2 separate regions of the Homo sapiens genome follow, and region 1 is linked to region 2. The links are contacts of gene promoters, found by promoter capture Hi-C in blood cells and fetal thymus (Javierre and others, 2016). All regions are on one chromosome and are shown on one strand. The core of a region is centred on a gene start or on the middle of the fragment in contact, and the rest is flanking DNA. Distances in the headings are between cores, read along the strand shown. Region 1 overlaps PHLDB2 (pleckstrin homology like domain family B member 2). Region 2 holds the start of ABHD10 (abhydrolase domain containing 10, depalmitoylase).

Region 1 (6,987 bases), core at 3,963-6,462, 120 kb after region 2:
TGGGTGATAAGTACATTGATCTTTGTTTATTATTTTATTATTATTTTAGTATACATTTAAATTTTTGTGTAGTTTAATATTTTTCATGATAAAGTATCTTTTAAAAAAGCTACGTGCATTCTGCAAGTCAACATCAATAAAATGTGTATACTGCCTTAAAAATTATAGTAGCTGACTTTACAAAGAAGGTTGGGGTCATATCACTGGCTCCTAGCTGATTTTTTTTTTAAGTATAAAATACTAACTCTTTATCATACTGAATTAAGTTCCTAAAAGCTGATACATGTATTTTTAAGTAACTGGGAGAAGTTTGAAAGCAAATACATTTTCAAGATAACAAGTAAGCAGGCCATCACATTTAAGATATTTGCAAGATAACGTTATGTGGGGTAGCTAAGTGTCACCACTGCGTGCCCAAATAATGATTTCTTCATAAAACTGTCAAACCCTCCATATCAAGAATTCCAGCCTCAATTAAAAGGTTAAAATACACACACACACACACACACACACACACACACACACACACACCCCTTAGAAACTTATGTTAAGGAAGAGAGTGGAGGAGCTCTTTAGGTCAAGTTCTTCACAGAATCCTAACCAAGGATCCTGATCAAGTCCCCCGTAAAGCTAGAAGGGTCTTCCTTTACTACGTAATCACCCAGTGAAGTGCAGAATCATGGGATAACTAACTTCAGATACTCTTCTTTAATCACAGGAGTGCTACAGGGAAAAGCACCCTCTGATCTTTTGATCTCAAAGCTAATTTCAAGCAAGAGAATTATCAACCTGGGGATCATATGTAGATAAAGATGCTCTCTCTTGACCCTGAAACCACCTCCGTGGACTTTAACTGGAAGCTGAGGAGAGTGTATGGGAGGGAAACTCTCCGATCTTGCCGCCATCCTGCCCCATCCCACACTACTGATCAAAAGACACTCCCTTAAGAGTAATATTTAATTTTTCCAAAGTAACATTCCCCAGACCTAAATACTTGCTGGAATTCCCATTCCCTAACCCAAGATTTATGAACTGGGAATAGTCAGGGTACAAACAGGCTCACAAGAGGTGGAACAAACACAGGTCAACCACATCTTCCATGTTTGTAATGCATTTCGCTTTACATCACAAATTGAGTACATGAGGCCGGGCTCGGTGGCTCATGCCTGTAATTCCAGCACTCTGTGATGCTGAGGTGGGCAGATCACCAAAGGTCAGGAGTCTGAGACCACCCTGGCCAATATGGCGAAACCCCATCACTATTAAAGTACAGAAATTAGCTGGGTGTGGTGGTGCATGCCTGTAATCCCAGCTACTCGGGAGGCTGAGGCAGGATAATCACTTGAACCTGGGAGGCCGAGGTTGCAGTGAGCTGGATCGCACCACTGTACTCCAGCCTGGGTGACAGAGCAACTCTGTCTCCAAAAAAAAAAAAAAAAAAAAAAAATGAGTGGGTGGGGTAGGTTTCTAAAATATTGTAAAGTAAAAATAATAATTATGATAATATCATATCTTCATTACTTAGCAGCTGATTGTGCAGAATGAGTATTATAAAACACTTAATTTTTCCCTTCCATGCTATCTACCTTTTGACCACTTACTGCTTGAAAGAAGGGAAATAACTTGAACAAGTCAAGATAAACAATTGACTAAGTTTAATTTAATTTTAATCAATGCTTTTTTTTTAATAACTCTGGCCAAAAGATCTAATAAAGGAAATGGTTACGTTAGGATGTTATTTTTATTACAGTGGCCAATCTAGTAGAAAGAACACTGGATAGGCTGCCAGGGAAGCAAGTCAGAAGATCCATCTTAGTTCTGGTTCTGCTAACAGAACTAAGATCTGGAGCACGTCAATTCGCCTGTCTTCATTTTGTTTCAACAGGAGTTTCTCCATACTCAACATGGTGAGAGTGAACTACATGTTCTTTCTGCTCCAACTTTCTGGACTCCCACAGATACTGGTTAAATAACACAGGAGTGCTCATTACATAATGCAGGAAATGGAAATGACCACAGAACAGAAATAGTTTTAGTGATAAGGTGGCAGCTACCTAATTGGGAAAAGATTTCACCGGACTGTTGCCCATGACATTCCAAAGGCATGGTAAATTGTTTTAGCATAACATAGTGGGAAAAAGGCCTGGTCAGAGTTATGGTAATGTAATATAATATGGGTATTTGATTGAGCATGATGTATAAGAAAGGTTTTGTCTGCATTCCCATGGCTTGCAGTTTCCTTAATAAATCTTAAGCTGTTTTTGAAAAGCTACTTCTGCAATGACGTAAGCAGTGAGGCAGCCAGACATCACTTCTCAATCCCCTCTGAATATCTCTTGGCTGTGCGGCACTATTCACACTGGGTCTGCACTGGTCAAAAGAATGTAGGAGCTGGGTTTCTTTTGCCTTTATCTTTCCTTGTTTTAGCAGTAGGGTGGTCAAGAAAGAAATCTTGGAAAACTCTTGTAATCTTTAACTTTTTTGCTATTTCATAGGCTAGTTCCATGAACATACTGCCATCTAGGGCAGTCACATGCAATGTGCAAACAAAACATTCTAAGATGATCAACACCAATTCCCACTGAATTAGCAGCAAGTCTCAGAAAAAGCTGACCTGGCTTAAGGCCATCGATAAACAGTGGCATACACAATATTTTCTTTCCTTTTACTTTGTAAAGTAAGGAAAAGCACTTCATCTAATAAAATCAACCTAACACACTAAACAAGTATCTCCTGTAAAAATCCTCTCAAAAACTTTTTGACTAACCCTGTTACTCTATATCTTATTAATCTGTTTCTTTGTATAGCAATTACCTACAACCTCTAGTTTCCCACACAACAGTAAAATGATTTTTACACTTGGGTTTCTCTTATTGACCACTAGCTGCTATAGACAACTATCTTGCCTTTAAAGCAGATACAGCACAAAGCTCCTTTTCTGCAATGTCTAAGAAACATCCTTAAGCGTCATGAAAACAACTGTAAGCAAATTAACTCCCAGAAGGTTCAAATTCCTGGATGAACATAGAGAGAAGTTCTGCCTTGCTAAATGTTTACTTTGAAGGGATTTGAAAATCTGAGCTAACAATTTTGGTTTCATTTATTTTTAAAAGACAAGTTACTTTAATCAAATCCCAATAAATATTTCTAGCCAACAGTTATTTTTTTAAAAACTACTCCTGTCTCCTCTCCCATCATCTGAAAAACAGTAACAAGAATGGCCAGATGAAAGATGATAATGAAAAGACTGCTACACCCCTTTTGCATAGTACCTGCGGGGGGGCAGATCCCTTAAAAGGGCTATCACTCTTGAGTCATTTCTAAATATATCACTATGTACTTGGCTTTGAGGTGCACCCTTTGGCTAGTTGTCAAAATGATAAGAAACTATCTTAACACTTTTCAGAGGTTTTATGTCTCCCACCAAAGGCATACTAAAAACTTTCCTATATGGCCAGAACCTGTCAGATTTGAGTATTAGATAAAATAACTACCACAGGAGGACAGCTTGGCACCCAGAACTAGAATCTATAATCATGAGCCTAATGGCTAACCATAGCAATGTAAACAGGAGAGTATACATGTTTGTAATTAATCAGGCTATGGTGTACAACTTTTCTGATAATCATAAACTCATTAAGGTAACTCCTTTCTATAAACAGCCATTCACAAATACCATGCTTTTTAAACTCTCCCAAGTAATTAACAATAACTTTCTTTACTATCATTTTCTTTCCCATTAGGTAAACACATGGAATGGTAGAGACTGTGGGTGCAGGAGAAAGTACAATAGAACAGGAGGCTTGCAGATTCTGCCGCTATCTAACCCAGTTAGTTGGTTGGAGGGAAAAGATTCAGATAAGAGGATTTCTAAGGTTCCTTTTACCCCCATAGTTATTTTGTTCTACATGCTGAAAGAATAGCTAAGCTTGAATTGTCTTCTGATTCTTAATCCTAGTTCTATGCAATTGAATTTATATTAGATATCCCCTCATCAGCTTATGAATTTCTCCCACAATTTCCCCAACACTTGCTCATTTCCATATATGCCAGGTGTCTTTTTTTCTTCCATACTCAGGAGGCCTCTGTAATTCTCCCTTCTGTCCAAGCCAGCCCTATCCATTCATGTACTCTACTCTTAACCGATAAGGCAGGGAGGAACAGAAAATCTCAAATGTTCTGTTTTGTACCTGGATTCAAAAGCAACATCTGCTATGTCTGTGGAACCATCTGTTGCCTACTTTGCCATGGAAAGGACAGTACAGGCATCAGAAGTGGAGTGTCACAGGTCATATAATGGAATTACCCCTTTCTGGGACTGGGGCACCCAGGCACGTGCCCCACAGTCTCTATGGCTAATGCCACCCCTCCCCCATCGAAGCATTTATTTATTTTCTCACAGGGAATGGTGCTTTGAAACTTTTACACAAGGTCAGGTCCAGTGTGTTTTGTTTTTTGTTCCCATTTGCCTGAATCTCTATTTTAAAATTTTTAACTCCTGGGTTGTACCTAGAACTTTGTCTGCCCGCCCTTAGCTCGCTTGAGACCTTATGAGTCCTAAAGCTCTGAGTGTCTCAGTTTTTTACATCTATAAAAAGAAGGGGTAGAAATTAAGTGATCTCTGAGGCTCCCTTGTGCTCTAATGCTCCCAAATCCCATGACTTTAATCCATCTCAAAGTTGTCAATGAACACAAGTTCCTCGACCTCTATGGTATATTAAGACTCTAAATGGCAAGGACAAAAGAATCTGCTGCATACAAAACGGCTTCTATGATAAGGGTCTCTTGTTTAACACAGTTAAACAAGTTTCTTGAGGATCCAAATCAGATTAAGATGCCTAATCTTGTTAACCTACTCCCCCAGGCAATACTGTAGTGCAGGGTTTGGGGCTGCATAATTGTTTTTGTGTCCCGTGCATGGCAGGGTGCTTAACCGCATCCCAGGCCTCTACCCACTATATGGCAGTAGCACTCTCCTCCTGTCAGTTGCTACAACCAAAAATACGTTGCCAGTATCCTCTGGGGGCCAAAACCCCTCTCCCAGTGAAAACCACAGCTCTAATGTATGTCAGGACTTTAAGATAAAGCACATCACTTAGGTGTTTTTGTTTCAAAAGAGTGACATTTACACAATCAACAATTGGTACACCAAGACTTTACAGATAGATTCATAAGGCACAGGTACTCCACCTAGAAAATGTACAAAGCCACTGTCACTCTAAGCCATCCACAGCACCATAGCACTGCCTCCCTGCTAAGGGTTGAAAATCAGGATATAAAGCCATAACGTTAACTACTCCTTTAAAAATATTTAAAAGGAGACCGGGTGTGGTGGCTCATGCCTGTAATCCCAGTACTTTGGGAGGCCAAGGCAGGTGGATCACCTGAGGTTAAGAGTTTGAGACCAGCCTGACCAACATGGCAAAATCCTGTCACTACTAAAAATAGAAAAATTAGCCAGGTGTGGTGGCAGGCGCCTGTAATCCCAGCTACTCGGGAGGCTGAGGCAGGAAAATGGCTTGAACCAAGGAGGCAGAAGTTGTAGTGAGCCGAGGTAACTTCTCCAATGAACTCGAGAGTCAACCCTTGCTTATAGATCTCAAAATGGAGCTTTGAAGAAAATAGGGAAAACCAGAGATTGGTTAATCACTTTGGCTTATTTTTTCCTCTCTTGCATACACAACAAACACACATGGTAAATAAAACGTTTCTGGAAAGGTTGCTAACGAGTTTCAGCTTGGTCACAGTTATTGAACGGAGGAGTAAGCAAGCTCTCAGTCCAATTTCCCAAGTATCTTTTCCTCCCCTTTTCAAACAGGGATCCAGGCGACACTCGTGGCAGACGATCTCAACACCAAAAGAACAGCAGCTGCCAGCTGCATAAAACAGATTGAGGCCTGCAAATTGACTGAAATGATGACTACTCTTAACCAGACATCTCATTTTTCCACTTCTGACAGGCTGAGATCTGCAAACCTCTGGGTCTCAAGAGATGAAGGCTACATTAGCCAACTAAGACGACAAACTCAACTCTTCCTTGTCATTAAATAATTTGCCAGTTATAAATGGTTTGGTAACTTTACAGAATTTAAGTACATGTAATGTTTAAATTTCCCCATTAAATGTAAGAGGCAAAGAAAATCCTTTTAAATAACTAAGCAGAGGATATGAAAGGGGAGCCAAGAATAGACAGAACTGTTACTTTTCAAAGAACCTTCGCTCTTTATTCAAACAAATATTTACACAATTGAAGGCAACGGCAAGAGAGATATAGCCATTCTGTTAAAATAGTGGGCAACTCTAACGGTTTATTTATCCCAAATCCGACAGTTCTGTTGCTAACCTACCAGGAACCAAGAATTCAAGTGTTCACAGGGCAAAAGTTTAACCTTCTGAAACTGTGGACCTCATTTAGATCTCTCCCAGCCGAATTCAAACGTTAGAATCCCAGAGACATATCTCGAACGCCCAAATTAAACCAAACTAGGAAGCTTAAAATTACACGTCCAATACTTGAAAACCTACATCTGTAACTTACACGTTCATATTACGAAGGGAAATGTGGCTGACAAATATTTACACTAAAAAGACTCCACATTTTTATGCCTCGTCTAGTTACACTCCCAGCTGTGCCTGGCTATGACTAGTTGTGCATTCTAGAGCTCTTTAGAGCTACTTCAGAGTTGCAGGATAAAGATTTCTAGGGAAGAGGGCAGGGCCAGGCGCCCGGAGGATTTCCAGCCACGGGTAGTTTACCGAGAGAAAAAGCTGCGGGCGTCGCTCCCTCTTTTACATAAGAAAGGTAAGTGAGGAACCGCGAAGCAGTTTGACTTCTCAAGCTCTTTCAAACAGGAAACCCCAACCCTGGGAGGGACAGCCTGTCAGCCTTTTAATTTCCTGGTGGTGGCGGGAGTTAGCCAGGTCCTCGGCGCTTTAATAAGTGATGACTGCTAGGGCTAAGTTATTAAGCGAACCAGCAAACGATTC
Region 2 (6,278 bases), core at 579-3,078:
ATTTTATTGTCAGCTGAGGTGGGTTCAATGAGCAGTTTCTTTAAAAACAACATATGATAGTATCGTTTTTGGAAAGAGATTTCTTATAGACCTATGCAATCACTTTGCGTTTTGTTGGTTTGGCTTTCTGTAAATGGTACACAGAGATTTTAGTGTAATTTAAGTACAACAGTACAATTGGTGAACTTCATAAGATTATCCTACTTCATCTTTTTCAAATTTTCCCCCATTATAAAATCTATACTTGCTCTTAAGAAACAAGTAGATATTTTTTTAAAAGAGTCATTTATAATCCCACCTCTTCTTTCCAAAGACACTAGTTTTGTGTACTTCCTTAGAGTCTTTGGACTAATACATTTTCTTTTTTTATATTAAATGAAGCCGTCCTCCACTTTGAAAACTTCTCAGTCTTGAGAAGAGAATCCATGTGTGCTGCTAAAGTTTTCCCCATTTTGTAATTAAGAAGTTGATTTTTTAAAGATGTAACTGAAGGCCTTAAAGTTATCCTTTTTACATAAAAGCTTGTTTCAAAGTATAGAGAAATATGCCAAATTTAAAACTTTTGGTAAGGACCAGTTATGCTGATCCACTCATGTTCATTTCCCATCTACTCAGCTGAGCACTAAAAAAAATTCTCACTATCCTCTTCCAGAAATCACCTCTTAAAACATAATTTCCCCGAGATGATTATAATTTATTTAATGTAAGTTCTAAGTAGACAGATTCATATAATTATATTCATAAATCATCTTTGAACATAAGGATTAATTCAAAGCCTGGTGCATAAGTGCTCAATGAATAAGTGCTAACTAGATGAAATAATATTATACTCTGGTTAATGAATTGACATACTACATTTTACTAGGAGTATTTGCATGTGTAACATGCCTTTTGGTTGCGCACAATTAAATGCAAGTTAATCTGATTATAAAAGTTTAAAAACTGGATACAAAAATCTCCATACAAAAGATCTCTGCCGTGACATTAATTACCACTCCAAGCACCATGCATCATCTGACAGCTACGTGGCAATGGTGTGAACCACACACAAAGCCAAAAAAATAAAAGGATCTAATTCAAAGACTATATATACATATAAGAGGTTCTCTGATTTTTAGCCCAAATTCTAGTTTCCTTTGTGCAATAATGATTATGGTTCTTTCACTGAGTGGGTGCAGCAAGAAAGCAGAACTAGAAATTAGGCTTATGAGGGCGTCTACACTTTTACAAAGAACATGCCTCGCATTGTTAGGTTCCCTAAACTCAAAGGAGAGTCAGTCTAAGCATTTTAGGAGTCACAATCTACAAATTCCTAGAAGTAACTAATAATAATGCATTAAATGCACATTTTAATTTTTTCTAGTGTTGGCCTTTAATGCAGGGGAGGCAGGTAAGGAGCAGGAGCTCTTTAAACTGCACAGTGTAAAACGCCAGCGAGGGCCCGGGGTGCCCAGAATGCCGCAGGGCCGCGGCAGAGCTCTCCTCACAGCCTTCACCAGAAGTCTACAAAGCGCCTAGAACTGGGGTGTTGAGAAAGGGGGAGGAGCATTTTTGAACCGGGCGCCAAAGACGCACTGCACAGGCACGGTAACTGACGGAACCCGAGGCGTTCGAAAGAACGCATCCTACTCCCGCCTTTCGGACACTGACCTGGGAGCCACCGTGGCGCCCGCTGAGGTATCCGTGCAAGCAGCACGCTGAGGCCACGGTGGGGACCGAAGGGGACGGCTGCCCAGCCCCAGCTCCGACAAGGTACCCAGGCCGCCACAGCTGCCAAGCGCGCAACCGCCATCTTCGTAGTTGTCCCCGCACCCTGCAGTGTCCCACTGAGGGACACGCTACGCAACGGAACCGAGGCTGCGCATGCGCTTCAGGCTGGAAGGCGGAACTTGCTAAAGAGCTCCCCGCAAGATTTTCAGCTTGCGAAGAGCGCACATGCGCAGAGCGTCGTGGCTCTTTCGTTTAGACTGTTGGTTCTACTAGTAGCGGGGTTTGGCTTGGGGCCTTTAAGATGTTTTGAGTGGCGTCGGGAGGCTGCCCTATCAGCGGGCTGATAGATACTACAGAGCTGGAAGCTCAGAAAGGAACCCTATCCAACGGTCCTAGATGGGAAACGTCTCCTGTCGAGGACACCAGGCTTGCTGCATCACCTGCAATCCCGCCGACCGCGTGACAGTTTTAACCTGTACTGGAAATGCTCCCAAGATCTGACATTAATCTCGCCTGTATAACCTGGAATGGTATCGGACATTCCCCGCTCTAGATCTATATGCCTGATTAACGAAATACTGAATTATCTTGGCCCCCTCCTCGTGCTATATGCGAAAATAAATTTCAGTAAAAAAAGATTTCAACGGAAGAATACAACTGAGAGGATTAAATAAATTTTAGGAGAATATTATATAATCCGGGGACAGAAGGGACTTTCTTAACCAAGATTTCAAAACCCCAACATCATAAATAAAAAATATATTTGTATACGAATTTAAACTTTTTGAATGGCAAAAGACACCTCAAGTTAAGAGCTTAGAAAAATGGATTTTGTAGCATAGATACATTAATACTTCTACTCAGCCTGCTCCTATAAATAAGAAATATAATTCAAATAAAATTGGCCAACAGCTATAAATAGGCAGCCCATATAAGGAAACATGATGCTCAAACTCACTAAATGAAAAACTGGAATTAAAAAAATAATGCCTTTTTCCCCCCATTCAGTTGGCAAAAAAGAAAAATAATTGGCAAGGATGCTAGACACTAGCACTTATGTATGATTGCTAGGAAGGTGAATTACTAAAATTTGTTGTGAAGTAATATGGCCACATCTATTACAATTTTAAAATATGCATCCATTCCAGTGCCTTTTAACGCAGTGGCACCAATTTGTGATTATCCTATAGAAAAACAACACTAGTTCTTAAGACTGCATATTATCTACTACACCGTTTTTAGAGGCAAAGAGAAGGAAAAAAATGGGAATGGCTAACAATAGAAAAATAGTTGAATAAATTGTAGTACAAGGGTTTCCGGACTCCAGCTCTAAATACCTTTCAAACTAATTCCTGGGGGCCTCAAGCATCAACCATGGAGTTTTACGTAGTAGTTTCCTATTTAAAAGTTATGGTGGCTTGTGTAATACTTTGAGTATATATAAGATAGTAAAGTAACTTTTATTATCCTGGTTATAAATTTGGGGGGCAGTAATTGGTACCAGAATTAAAGGCAAAGTTTGGATATAGTGAATCCAGCATGTCTTTGGAGTCGTGAGAACCTGGACTGTTGGAACAGTCTGGAACAGTTAGATAAATAAAGACTGAATAGATCTCTTTCTTGAGAGGTGGGATGCCTCTCTCTACTAAGGACATATAGTTAAGGACAGCAACTTGATTTCAGGACATACTCCAAAAGATGCTGAGCTATGTTGCCCGTTCTCCATTAGACCTGTTGTAGACTCTAAGGGACTAAATCACTAAGGTGATGCCTGATGCATGTCATTTCATCATCCCTTATATTTCTTTTTTGGGTTTTTGTGTGTGTGTGTGTGTATGTTTTAGACTGAGTCTCGCTCTTGTCACCCAGCCTGGAGTGCAATGGGGCGATCTCAGCTCACTGCAACCTCCACCTCCTGGGTTCAAGCGATTCTCCTGCTTCAGCCTCCTGAATAGCTGGGATTACAGGCACCGACCACCATGCCTGGTTAATTTTTGTATTTTTAGTAGAGATGGGGTTTCACCATGTTGGCCAGGCTGGTCTCGAACTCCTGACTGCAGGTGATCCACCCCCCTTGGCTTCCCAAAGTGCTGGAATTACAGGTGTGAGCCACCGCACCTGGCCCATCCCTTATATCTTAACAAACACTTCTCTCTGCATGTTTTGGATAATTGCAAATATTCTCAATCACTTCTCTCCCTTTTCTTCCCCTTTATTTTTGCAAGTCTTCTTGCATTTTACTTGCAGTAAGATGAAAAATCTGACTGGTCATAGTGGGAAAATCACTGCACAGAAAAGCAGAGAAACCCATGGATTGTTTTCTGTATTCACTCTTGTTGTCTAACAAATTAGAAAAAATTATGGCCAGTAGCAAGTACAGATGCTTTTACGGACAGTGATGAGCTTGAAGTAGACAAATTTGTTTCCACTCTGGGTACCTATTGTCAATGTTGACTTCATCAATATATAAAGGGGGCAAAGGGACATACTGCTGAGGGAAGCTTCTCTCTCTGAAATCTGCTGCCTTAGTTCAGGGGGACAAATGAGATGCCCCACCAAATAAAGCTTTATATCACATTTACATGATTTTTTTTTCGTGTAAGATAAGGATAAGTAAACACACTCCTTGCAATCCCCAGCAATAAATGTATCTGTGTAAACAGACAACAATATGATGTCAGAGTTTTTCAGGGTTCATTTCATTTTGTAAGCAATAGGATGTAACCAGAGATACTTCTATTGGAATACTTCAGTTTATACACTACAAATCATAATGTTAGCACACAACAAACTTTACATAGTTTCTACAACTGTCATTTGCGATTAATTCATCCTCCATCATACTACAGATAGGTAACTTCAAAATAAGAGATGAGTTTATTTTCAAATGTGAAATCATGTCAACATTTTAATCCAAACTCAATATATTTAACACACATATTTAAGAGGCTTACTACATCATGCAATTGGATTAGAACACCTTTACAATCCTATGAAGAGAGTACAGTGCAGAAAAGTCATATCTTTACATTAACCAACAAAATCTTAGCAATTATATTTTAGTCTTACATCACTACAGGGTTTAAAAGTGATCGCTGCAAAATCAGATTTTAAAAATATCTTCCACAATCATGATTTTTGTCCTTCACTGTTCAAGTAAAATCTTGTGTCATCCAGTTGCAAAATCTTATTATTGATAACACGTATACGTGTATACAAACCACACTGCAAATTAACAAAAGAATTGTACCCAGTCAGGCTGACAAAGTTTAATAAAGGGACACTTCTAATCTAATCATTTCATCTTGTAAGTAATATTGTTATTCTCTACATCTATTCATTTGCCATGTTTTAGGAAAGAGCACATTCATACTTTCAAACATGCAAAACATGATAAACTAGAATAAATGGCACTTGAAAAACCATTATAAAAGAGACTTGCCTGAAGTCGTTTCATTTGACAAAAATTAACTAAAAAAAAGGCTAATTGTAAAAAATAAAATAAAATAATACATTATAGAGAATATTAAGTTGAACTTCATTTGCCGTTTTATAGAACTACACCACTTCTGCAAATAAGTATGTTAATTGGTCTGTTCTTTGGTGAAAACAGAGCTATGATTTCATAGTTATGTTGAGGGAGCAGTTAGCAGGTGTGCTCCACAACAAAAAGAAATCAGACAATCTAAAGGACATTGGCTACTGGTTGCCTTTATTCTCAGCACCAGGAATGGAGAAATCTTCAGCAAAACAAGCTCCTAACACCAGATATTCTCTTTATTTAAAATTGTTCAACATGACAGAATGCCTGTTGCGTAACCTGGCTTTTTTTTCTAAAACACACAGCTTTTTGCTCTTTCTTCTTTTACAAAAAGTGGTTTACTACATATATATATACATATATAGTAGCTTACACCAGTGGTGACACTGCAAAGTCAATTTCCTGGGCATTTGATGGCATCAAAATACCATTTTGAAATATACAGAACAATACGAAATGCAGTTCATCACTTGCAGTTACTACTGTTCCACAGAAGTCAGGTCAGCTCTTTGGTTTTGGTGCAGTACTTAAAAAATTAAGGCAAAACTCCTCCTAAAATGTATTTCCCTCCAAGCCCTTATTTGCTTATGTTTACAAAATAACTGTCAACAAAATGCTACCTTTTTTAAAAAAAGCCAGTTGATTACCAATAATGTCAATGCCAGTGATTTGGGTGATAAAGTTATTCTGTATTTCCAAGTACATACAGATATTCTGTAACCTGTTTAGTTTATTTCACCAAATCCGACAACTGATTAAAAACAGTTTATTAGAAATGTTCCTATAAGTGATCCAATTTATCAAAATAGTGTTTTCTTTCTCATGGAAGCTTCAATTATTTTGCTATTTATTATGAAGGTTTGTATTAAAACCCCTTCTTTATTTTTTACAAATAACTTGTCTTGATATGAAAGGAGTTCTGAGTGTTTACAGCTCAAGGGATGGATCTGTTGGGTTTTCTCATCTGGGGTTGAATATGGCTTCATTCTTGTAAGAGATTATTGCCGTCTGCCCTGAAGTGGACTGT

Evidence for each region. Contacts are between HindIII fragments. The CHiCAGO score rates a contact against its expected background, and 5 or more counts as called.
Region 1: a contact is called between a fragment that was not itself captured here and the fragment with the promoter of ABHD10 in region 2, in 1 of 17 cell types (endothelial precursors). The highest score is 9.9, in endothelial precursors.

What each region holds. Positions count from the first base shown.
Region 1 is chr3:111,860,475-111,867,461 of GRCh38, reverse strand. All of the region lies in intron 1 of PHLDB2 (pleckstrin homology like domain family B member 2), which reads right to left. LOC105374040 (a long non-coding RNA gene) reads left to right here and starts at 6,646. Exons shown (of 4, transcript XR_924333.4): 1 at 6,646-6,802. RefSeq lists an enhancer at 6,764-6,873. The HindIII fragment of the contact is 2,563 bases long and covers 3,931-6,493 here.
Region 2 is chr3:111,974,576-111,980,853 of GRCh38, reverse strand. ABHD10 (abhydrolase domain containing 10, depalmitoylase) reads right to left here and starts at 1,828. Exons shown (of 5, transcript NM_018394.4): 1 at 1,651-1,828. The coding sequence starts at 1,792. It overlaps PHLDB2 (pleckstrin homology like domain family B member 2), which reads right to left. Exons shown (of 18, transcript NM_001134438.2): 18 at 4,337-6,278. RefSeq lists enhancers at 1,589-1,638, 1,659-1,708, 1,719-1,768, 1,627-2,186. The HindIII fragment of the contact is 3,690 bases long and covers 524-4,213 here.